Regions from separate parts of the Homo sapiens genome. Here region 2 is linked to region 1. Evidence: promoter capture Hi-C in 16 types of primary human blood cells and fetal thymus (Javierre and others, 2016). All regions are on one chromosome and are shown on one strand. Each heading gives the region's core, a stretch centred on a gene start or on the middle of the fragment in contact. The rest is flanking DNA. Distances are from core to core; before and after follow the strand shown.

The links. Contacts are between HindIII fragments. The CHiCAGO score rates a contact against its expected background, and 5 or more counts as called.
Region 2: the fragment with the promoter of TAS2R41 here is called in contact with the fragment with the promoter of PIP in region 1 in 2 of 17 cell types (monocytes and neutrophils); the score reaches 7.7 in monocytes.

Annotation. Positions count from the first base shown.
Region 1 is chr7:143,128,902-143,134,646 of GRCh38, reverse strand. It overlaps PIP (prolactin induced protein), which reads right to left and starts at 2,570. Exons shown (of 4, transcript NM_002652.3): 1 at 2,436-2,570. The coding sequence starts at 2,530. The HindIII fragment of the contact is 4,172 bases long and covers 615-4,786 here.
Region 2 is chr7:143,475,197-143,480,941 of GRCh38, reverse strand. TAS2R41 (taste 2 receptor member 41) reads right to left here and starts at 3,069. Exons shown (of 1, transcript NM_176883.2): 1 at 2,146-3,069. The coding sequence starts at 3,069. The coding sequence ends at 2,146. All of the region lies in intron 2 of EPHA1-AS1 (EPHA1 antisense RNA 1), which reads right to left. The HindIII fragment of the contact is 17,498 bases long and covers 2,205-5,745 here.

The sequences.
Region 1 (5,745 bases), core at 1,321-3,820:
TTTCTAGCAACAGAATCACATTAAACCAGCAAACCTCTTGATCAGGGAAATGCAAATCAAAACCACAATGCGATACCACCTTACTCCTGCAAGAATGGCCGTAATCAAAAAATCATAAAACAGTAGATGTTGGCGTGGATGCAGTGATCAGGGGACACTTCTATACTGCTGACGGGAATGTAAACTGCTACAACCACTATGTAAAACAGTGTGGAGATTCCTTAAAGAACTAAAAATAGAACCACCATTTGATCCAGCAATCCCACTACTGGGTATCTACCCAGAGGAAAAGAAGTCATTATTCAAAAAAGATACTTGCACACACATGTTTATAGCAGCACAATTCACAATTATAAAACTGTGGAACCAACCCAAATGCCCATCAATCAACGAGTGGATAAAGAAACTGTGGTATATATATATATATATATATATATATATATATATATATATATATATATATGATGGAATACTACTACTCAGCCATAATAAGGAATGAATTAACAGCATTTGCAGTGACCTGTATGAGATTGGAGACTATTATTCTAAGTGAAGTAACTCAGTAATGGAAAACCAAACATCGTATGTTCTCACTGATATGTGGGAGCTAAGCTTTGAGGACTCAAAAGCATAAGAATGATACAATGGACTTTGGGGACTTGCGGGGAAGAGTGGGAGAGGGGTGAGGGCTAAAAGACTACAAATATGGTGCAGTGTATACTGCTCGGGTGATGGGTGCACCAAAATCTCATCACCACTAAAGAACTTACTCATGTAACCAAATACCACTTGTACCCCAGTAACTTATGGAAAAATAAAATAAAATAATAAAAAATTTTAAAAACCCAGCAAACATCTCAATGCACTGGAGGTATTTGTAGGAGCATCTTTGAAGATCCTCCTTCTGTGGTCCCCAGGTAGGGTTTAGGAATTTGTATTTATTTAGCTCCTTAGGAAATTTGGACATATGGCCATGTTTGGGAACTTTAGATACTACTCTACATTTAGACCATACACTGCAATCTGAAAAGGAAAGGAAATGGAGACAAATAAAATGGTCAAATGTTCTTCTTCAGTCAATGAGGACTGGGTTCGGGGCCAGGAGAGTTATTTTCTCGTCCCTAGAAACTCCCGGCTACGGACCTTTGTTATTGTGTGGGACAGAAGGGAATTGAGATTCTTAGCCCACAGTGTCTCACAGCCCCATTTTCTTGGGGCAAAGCATCTTAGAGAGATTCTATTTTTTGGTGCCAACTGCTGTAGTGCCCAGTGCACAGGAAAAGGGTATAAATACCTAAGCAACTTCAAAATCTCTCCCATTTGTATATGAGTTTCAGATTGATAGGATGACCAGCTTAGTTCGAGTGACTAACCATCTCAGTTTACCCAGGACTGAGGTCTTTTCCAGAATGGGTTGTGGAGGTGGCGGGGGAGGGCAGAGTTGCAGTGCTACAACCAGGAAAGTTCTGGGCAAATCAGGATGGATGGTTGATAACCTAATTAGCATAGCTTATTTGAATACCTTGCTGCCCTTCAGGGCTAAGTGGACTGTCATCTGGCGGGAATGGGGTGGGATCTGAACCTGTCCCCATGCAGGGTTTCTTGGGACACTTGCCTCCATTACATTAGCTTGTCAAAACCCTGAACAGTTTCCTCCAGGACAGGATATCTGACCATGCCATAGAGAGTACCTCCAAGATCACAACCCAGAAACCCAGCATTATAAACCCTACTGCTATAGAGAAAACTCCCTAGATTGGGTATCGCTGCTTTCTCCCAGACCCTTGGCTCCATTTTCTACTTTATTTTACTTGCTCCAATTTTTCTGCTTCCTTCACACATGTGTTCTCAATAAGTTGACTTCTGAACCTGTGCTCTCAGGTCCCAGTATACGTGAGAGCAAGAGGTCATCATATTCATCTTCAGACTTCAGGTTAGGAAGAATGTCTAAGCTGCCAGTCTAGCTCAATCTCAGACCACAGGGCAGTGGCCAGGGCCTCTGGTCCTTTAGCCAGTCCTGCCAAAGCTGCCCTAAGCTGCCATTGGAATTCACAGACCTGTTATGCTTCTCTTCTAGGAGGCAAGGTGTGAGAAGGTAAAGTTTACTGAGCAGAAATCTGAACAAAGGTATAAATTATGAACAAGATGTGGATCAGCATGTTAGATGAAGACTAACTACTAATTACAGCCTGTAGGTACATTTGGAGCTTTATTTCCACTGGCAATGCAGAAACACCCAGCAAAAATGTGAGAGGAGTTGGTGGGGCTTCCTAAGAGGACAAGAAGTGGAACCTGGCAGGAGATCCATGGGAGCTCCTGGGACTAGAGTTCTGGGAAGTTGAAAGAAATTCTCAGAAAGAGATATGTAATTTCCAGACTGGGAGAGGAGCCCTCCCTGCAATTTTTTTTGTGGGGAGGAGAAGGGCATGGCTCACGTGTTGTCCTGAGCTTTGTTGGCCCCCAACTGCAGGCAGAGAACCAGGAGCAGGGTGGCAGGGCTGGCCCTGAACAGGAGCTGGAGCAAGCGCATGCTGGAGAAAACAGAAGGCAATGTGTCCCAGAGAAGTGGTGTCCCAGGTGCCCAGCACATTTCTTATATACAGATTGATCAAGGAAGTGCAAGAGCTGCCAGGGAGATCCATGAGGTGAATCACCCATTCACCCTCCCCACTCGTGATCTTTCCTTGTTGACCCAAAGTTTGTTTTTCTAAGAAAAAATCAACACTCAGCTAGAATGTCAGCGTTTGAGAGAGGAGTCAGATTGTTCTTCCTTATTTTTTCAGCATCAGAGTTTCTCAAAATGGCTGGGACCTCAAAAGATACACCAGTTTTTCCCGAGTTTACAGATTCAGTTTTCTTTTCCCTCCTAATTTGCCTGTCTGAAGTGCTATGTGTAGTCTTAGCTTCAGTCACTGCTCCCCTGGTCTCTGAAAGCAGAGAACACAGCTGTGGTGGCAGGTTTCAGACCAGAGACATAGAACATCTTTGCTTGATCAAATTATAGTGAGTTCAAGATGCAATGCTATTCAAAACATTTCTTGGAGGGCTAGGATGATCAGGACTTCCCTAGCAGTCACTACCCATCATGAGGTGGAAGAGCTAGAGAAGACCTGAGCTGCTCTACATGATGGGGAAGTGAGTTCAAGACACTGGGTGATGTAAAGATGTTTATTGTCATTGAGTCCTTCTTAATTTCAGGTGTGGTTGCAATATACTGCAGATGTCCAAGATCCCCAGCTGCCCCACAATCCCCAAGGCAGGGTGATATTTTAATTCTAGACAATTCCTATAAATAGCTGGCACCCCCAAATCAGACTTCTTGGCACCAAAGAGCTGGCTTATTTTCTTATTGACATGGCCACTTTCTTACACTTGTCTCATGCGTAAGCCACACAGGAAGAACCACAGTGGAAAGGATTCCTTCTGTGAGAATGGAGCCCACATTATGTCCAGTAGATACCCAGGTTGTAGAATTCCTCTCCTTGGGATGATGGGGAGACTTGCTCTTGCTGACACTGGCATTGTGTTATTTCTCCTTATGAAATTAAATCTGCTCCTTAACCTATGACTTACAATACTATGGGATTTGTTTCTATCATTTGCATGGCACACAGCTGCCCAGGAAGAGCCTCTCTGGCAACAGAGTGAAAATCAGAGTTCTAGGAGTTACCGCCTCTGTATGTTGCTTTAGCCAGGATTCAGAGCTAAAGTGTAAGTGTGTGCTTCTGCTTTCTGGATGTATCTCTCAAAATTGCTCTGTCTGTTTATTCAGCTCCTGGATCTACCTTCTCTTTTCTTTGAATTGGACACCATTCATGTCATTGCTCACTCAGAACTTCAGCTGTTCTCATGATCACATGCTTTCTTCCCTGTTTATGTCCTATCCACTCAAGAACACTGCTTGTGAGGGTCACAATGACCTTCCTTTGTAAGCCTTTTCCCACAATTAAATTGTCTTTACACCTGGTCCTTCTCACTTGCATAATTTCCATTTGAAGCACATCCTAGCTACACTGACCAAGGCAGGCATAAGGCAGAAGAATCTAGGAAGTGTCTGTGTGGGAAAATGCAGGAAAAGTTCTTTGCTTGGCTCTTTGAAGGCATAGCCCTGTCCTTGAGGATGCAACTCCAGCACTCCCAAAAGGCAGTGTCCAGAGGAAGGCAGATGACGATGGGTTAAGAGCATCTATTGAAGGTAATGAGGCTGTTCTTCTGTGAGCTAGCAGGAAACTGCAATACCTACAATGTACAGGACAATCTTTTTTTTTTGAGACAGAATCTCACTCATCCAGGCTGGAGTGCAGTGGCATGATCTCAGCTCACTGCAGCCTCCACCTCCCGGGTTCAGGAAATTCTCATGCCTCAGCCACCCGAGTAGTGGGGATTATAGGCAGGTGCCACCATACCCGGCTAATTTTTGTATTTTTGGTAGAGATGGGGTTTCACCATGTTGGCCAAGCTGATCTTACATTCCTGACCTCAAGTGATCCACCTGCCTCGGCCTCCCAAATTGCTGGGATTACAGGTGTGAGCCACTGTGCCTGGCCTAGGACAAGTCTTATTCAGGCCATGACTGCTGTGATGGTTACTTTTATTTGTTAGCTTAGCTAGGCATGGTGCCCACTTTTTGGAAAAACAACAGTTTAGAAGTTGCTGTGAAGTTGTTGTTTGTTTGTTTGTTTTAAATGTGATTAACATTTAAATCAGTAAAATTTGAGTAAAACAGATTACCTCCATAATATGGGTCAGACTCATTGGATCAGTTGAAAGTCTTAAGAGAAAAGCTTGAGGTCCCTTGAGGAAGAAGATTAGGGAGAAAAAGAAACCATAATTATTATGCCATAAAGAATGAACAAGTCTAGGTTTAAGAAATCAGATAAAGGTTGATAAAATCAGATTGTAAACAACTCAGGAAGCTTACAGAAGAGAATGTGTATAGTCCCATAGGGAAAGAGTTAGAATATAGGTGAGGCTTGCCACAGGCTAAGTTTACAAAGAGAAAGATAATCTTAGTCCTGACAGGGCTCATGAGAAGAAGATAAGGAGTGGACAGAGAGGGAGTTATAGACACCAACACACATGAAGCATATGCTGTGTGCATTACACTGCTCTAAACATTTTAACATATATTAGCTCAATCTTTATTACAACCCTGTGAAGGTGGTTGCCATTTTTATTCCATTTTACAAGAGGAGAAACAGAGACCCAGGAGATAAATATCTAACCCAGACCATATAGCCAGTATATGGCAGAGTCAACTTTGCAAGCAGGTTTTGTGGAATCTGAGTTTTGATTTACAGTATCTGAGAACCTCTTTTTGAAATAGAATCCAAACTTACAAATGTAAACTACAGGTACAGGATCTTGGAGGAGGCACCCATAAGTAGGAAGCCCTGAGGCTTCATGCCATTAACTTAATGGCGAATACACCTTTGGGTGGGGCCAGAATTTCCACGCTGGCAGTCTGGCCCTGGAACATGACCCTTTAACCACTGCACTGCCTACTGGCGAGAACAAGTTGCAAAGTTAGTAACTGGCAGAGTTAGGGGTTCAAAATCAAGTAGTCTGATACCAGAGTTTATGTCCTTAAACACTTGTCTAGTCTATTTATTGATGTAGCAACAGTTTAAAGTTGAGAAAAGGAAACTCACAGAGGTTTTAATAAGTTGTTCAAGTCACAGAGCCAACAAATAACAAAGGTATTGAAGTTTGGCTTGGCCATATGACTAAGCCAAACCATTGGAA
Region 2 (5,745 bases), core at 1,820-4,319, 350 kb before region 1:
AGCTAATGTTTTTTAACCTAACAGGTTGGCAAAAACAGAAAGTGTGAAAAAAGTTCTCTAATAAATTGCTGGTGGGAAAGTAAATTGATGCAAACCAATAAAGGGTGATATCTGTCAGAATTAGAAATGCACATTCCATTCAACTCAGTAATTCCATTTCATGAGACTTTTCCCATAGTTAGTTTGCACATGTGGAAAATTACATATGCAGAAGATTATTCATTATAGCATTATTATAACAACAAAAAACAGGAAGTAACCTAAATGACCACAAACACATGGCTAGTTAAAGAAATTGTGGCACATCAGTGCAAAAAATTTTACAAGTGAGGAAATACTATGCATATCCACTTACATAGCTCTCCAAGATATGTTATAAGGTGAAAAGAGCAAGGGGCAGGACAATGTGTGTATTCTGCAACCATTGTATGGAAAGATGGAGACATTATAAGTTATTTGATTGGTAGCTAGTTAGGTACTAGTATAGAATATACCAGTGCATAAGTTAGTTGACTGGTTCATTAGGTATTAGTGGCTTTCTGATAGAATAAAATATCTCTACAAGGATAGACATAAAACTGGTAAGAATGCCTCAGGACGGAACAGATAAGAGGGAGATTTTCTATACATACTCTTCAATAGGTTTTGAATTTTCAGCCATGAAAATATATTAGGTATTTTTAAAAATAAATGCTTAAATTAAAAATGTAGAGCCAGGTGCCCAAAGATTATTGTTCATGAGTGTTCATCCACTCATCAGTACATCCCCTAATCAAAGTCTTCACTCTTAGAGGAAATTACAATTTCTCCCTATCAGGGATTCAGCTGCAAGCTTGTCTCTGAAATTTGCACATTGATGCCCTTTAGCAAAAACGTTTAAGCTATCTTAGAGGCACTCATCTCTAAATAAAATGTTTTCCAAAAGTATTTCTAAAATCATTTGCATAGTAATTGGAGCAAGTTATTTTTAAAACAGTATTTAAACGTAAAATTTTGAACAGGGTGGTTCTTTTTAAAACAATATTTAAGTAGTTTTTAGATACAAACTAATGAATTTTTTTTAAGACGGTCTCACTCTGTTGCCCAGGCTGGAGTACAGTGATCACAGCTCACCGCAGCCTCTATCTCCTGAGCTCAAGTGATCCTCCCACCTCAGACTCACGAGTAGCTGGGACCACAGGTGCACACCACCACACCTGGCTGATTTTTTTGAATTTTTAGTGGAGAGGAGGTCTCGCTATCTTGCCCAGGCTGCTCTTGAACTCCTGAGCTCGAGCAGTCTGCCTGACTCAGCTTCCCAAAGTGTTGGGATTACGGACGTCACCACTCCCAGTCCAGTGAAATTCCTGAGTCTGTTTTTCAGATTGAAAAGTACATGTTTATTCAATGCAGATGTGACTCTGTGACATATGCTTGAGGAAGACAAGAAAGTCACAATGTGTCTTTTTCTAAAGGAATGATAAACAAGAAAAAAGTCTGGCTACTACTCAGACTTCAGAGAAGAGAAAATTGAAGTCAGAAATGTTAATGAGAAAAGAAACTGGGTGGTGTAAAGAAACCTTCCAGTAAACTTAATAAAATTAAAACCAGATTATCCAAGTTTGTGTGGAGACAAAGTATCTTCATGCAGTAAAGGGCAATCAGAACTCACAGCCCAGGCCACTGCCTGCCACAACTGCCTGTCCCTTGGGGCTCTCGTAGTAACCATGACATTTGTCCTCAAGAAGGCTGTCGCTTCACTATCCACATCTCAGTTCAGCCATAGAGGCAAATATTTGCTCTTAACTTTCTGAAAGGCAGTGGAGATGCGATGGCACAGTTAATCAACACTTTTAATCGAAGCCTTCCAGATAACAAAGGGGTACAAACGTAAGGAGTAGCACGACATCATATTAACATATTCTGAACTTCTGGGCAATACTGGCTCTCTGGGATCCATGGGACTGCATCTTTATAACATTCCAAAGAAGGGAAGCATGCTCAGAGAGTTCCCAGATTTCCTTGTCTCCTCCGCTTCCCAGAGGAGGAGCCCCATAACAGTACCCAGTATTCATCTACCTATGAAAACACCTCCATGTCAGTGGGCCACAGCTCTGCCATCCTCACCTTTCTTTTCCGGGGGTCTAGATAAGGAAACCATGCCATCTAGGCCACCCAGAAGCCCCTTGCCAACAACAGGAGCTGCGAGAACACGCTTCGAAGCTTGAGGTTGCTGAAGATGAGGATGAAGGGATGGACAGATATGCACAGGTAGACTGCAATTTGCCATGGCCAGTAAAAGTCGTTCTGCATGGAGATAAATTTTGCGGCATCAATGATCAGGGACAGAAAGGACAGAGCATAAAGAATGAGGAAGGAGATGAGGGACTTCAGAGCTCTGGTGTGAGCCTGGGTGCTGGGGTCCTGCAGGCTGTGCCCGTTGTGCTGCATTCTCTGAGTATGCCTCCTCAGAGAATTAATTAACAGCATAATTGAGACCAGAAAAACAGAAAAAGGAATTGACCAGATGACCAGTTTCAGGGATGGGAAATAGTATGTTTCTATCCTTGTATTCCACTTGTAGGTCATGTTCCCAGAAAATTTTCTAATTAAAAATTCTTGATATACAGGGTAGTTCACCCAAAAAAACAGCAGGGTTATGATGAAGGAGATCAGGACAGAGCCCAACAGGAGCCAGGGCACCCACCCTGGGAACCTCCACTTCAGCCACAGGAAGGTGGAGTGTGTGATGTTAGCAATCTTCACACAGAACAGGACACTGAGCCAGCTGCAAAACCAGAAGGTGGCTGAGTTCAGGAAGTGCCAGTGTAGATGGAAGAACTGTCGGCCGAGACCCCCAGAGTACTCGACCTTCTGGGCAGAGTAGTAGAAGTTGTGCACCGTCCCAACCAACTGCAGGCAGAAGCGGGAGGCACCCAAGCTAATGAGGATCATATCCAAGGGCAGCAACCTGCCATATCGCAGCCACTCCCTGCCCAGCACCAGCACAATGAAGCCATTCGCTGCAATCCCCAGAAGACTCAGCAGGCTAAAGAGCAACACGAAGAAGGCCGTCAGTGCTGCTTGCATTCTGACCCCTCCTGCAGTCCCCACTTGAGTGCCTTGGTCCCTGGCCTCCTCCCTGCCCCTAGCCACAGTCCTGTTTTTAATCTTTCCTAGGAGTGCTAAAGAGTGGTCAGGCTCTGCATCTGAACCAGAGCTCACTTAGAGAGGAGGATGCTCAGGCTAAAGAGGAGAGGTGTGCTCTTGGCTCAGACAGGATGCAAATTTATCCTAGTGTCAGTTACCACTAGGCCTGCAAATTACCCTAATTTGCCTTGTCCAGTTTTCCTGCATGCTGCCATGGTTAGTATCAATGTCTATGATTTTTCTGGGTCTCTGTGACTGAGTTCCATCCTCAGGCCGTATGAACACTCCTCTTCCCATCAGAACATTCTTAAGACTTTAAATATAGAGACAAGTATAGGAGATACACAGGAAAAATAGTGACATCAAAGAATTCTGTCTCAGTACTTCCCTGTTACACATCCATGCTTACCTTACTGCCTTTGCCCACAAATCGCTTCAAAATCAAACACTTCGTCTACCTCTCCATCCAGATCTCTACTTAGATCCTCCATGAATCCTGAGATGTAAATGATAATGGTGTAAACGGGTTTTGTATTTCCAGTGAGAGAATTCATTATCATGTGGTTGAGGGGCCTTCCGAAGCAGGACTGAGAGCCCCTGTTTCTTCCTGGGTGTTGGTGGGAGACTGCTCTCTGGTCCTAGAGGCCTCTCACAGTCTCTGCCAGGTAAGCTGTTTCAGCATGGCCACTCACGTCAAGTCAGCAGTCTCTAAAGGGAGTCTGCTAACAAGATGGGGTCTTAAATAACATAACACAATCATTGGAGTGACAGCCTATCACCTTTGCCATAGTCTATTGGCTAGAAGCAAGTCACTGTCACCAACAACACTCAAAAGAAGGAGGTTACACAAAGGCCCAACACCAGGGTTGAGGGACAGGCAGGGCCACTTTACAGTCTGTCTGCCACCCTGAGATACCCGAGGCATATGTGAGTCCTGTCTAACACCAACATCAAAAAGAAGTCCCTATGAGACCATGTTGAAAGTAAAAATATTTTCTTTTAAAATATATCTATCACCTCACATAATTCCTGTTTTCAATTTCTTCATGTGTAGTGAGAACACTTAAGATCTACCCTCTCATGAAAGTTCAAGTATACAGTGCAGTATTGTTTACTATACTCATACTACCATACCTTAGGTTTCCAAAGCATGTTCACTTAGCATAACTGAAACTTCATACCCCTTGACCAATATCTCCCCATTTCCCCTTCCAGAACCCTGGCAACCACCAATCTACTCTCTACTTCTGTGGGTTTGTTTTTTCAGATTCCACATGTAAGTGAGATCGTACAATATATGTATTTCTGTCTCTGGAGCATTTCACATAGCATAATGTCCTCCAGTTCCATCTACGTTGTTGCAAATGGCAGAATCGCCTTTTCTAAGACTGAATCATATTCCATTGTGTATGCACACCACATTTTCTTTGTTCATTCATCTGTTAATGGGCTTTTAGATTGTTTCCATGTCTTGGCTATTGTGAATAATTTTCAATGAACATGGGAGTGCAGATATCTCTTCAAAATACTAGTTTCATTTCCTTTGCATATACACCTAAAAGTGGAATTACTGGATAAGGTAGGTCTGTTTTTAATTTTCTGAGAAATCTTTATAGTGTTTTCCATAATTTATATTCCTGTCAACAGACTGAAAGAGCTGCTTTTCTCTGTATTTTTGCCAACACTTGTTATCCTTCATCTTTTTGGTAACAGCCATTCTAACACATGTAAGATGATACCTCATTGTGGTTTTGATTTGCATTTCTCAGGTGATTTGTGATATTAAACATATTTTCATGAACGATTTTTGTCTTCTTTTGAGAGATGTTATTCAGGTCCTTTGCCCATTTTAAAATCAGGTTATTTATGTTTTTTGTTTATTTCTGCACTACAGTTGAATAAGTTCCTTGTATTTTTATTATTTGTATTTATTTATTTCAGACGGGGTCTCACTCTGCCACCCAGGCTGGAGCGCAGTGGCACCATTACAGCTCACTGGAGCCTCAAGGTAGGAAGGATGATCCAATCTTCCCCACCTCAGCCTTCCAGGTATCTGGGACTAAAGGCATGCACTGCCACACCCGGTTAATTTTTTTTATTTTTTGTACAGACAGAGTCTCACTATGTTGCTCAGGCTAGTCTCAAACTACTGGGCTCATGCAATCTTTCTGCCTTGGCCTCCCAAAATGTCAAGATTACAGGCGTGAGCCAGGGCACCCAGCCAAAGTTCCTTATATATTTTGGAAATTAACACCTATTAGATATGTTGTTTACAAATATTTTCTCCCAATTTCCATTCTGCTGGTTGTTTTCTTGGCTTTGCAGCTTTTTATTTTGATGCAATCCCATTTGTCTATGTTTATTTAGCTGAATTTTTGCCTGTGCTTTAGGTGTAGTTTTCTATAAGTCATTACCCAAACCAGTGTCAAGAAGCTCTTTTCCTATGTGTCCTTCTAAGAGTTTTATGATTTCAGGTCTTGCATTTAAATATTTAATCTATTTTGATTTAACTTTGCATGTAGTGTAAGAAGAGGATGAAATTTCATTCTTCTGCATGTGGATACCCAGTTTTCCCAACCTCATTTATTGAGGAGACTATCTTTTCCCCATTGTGTA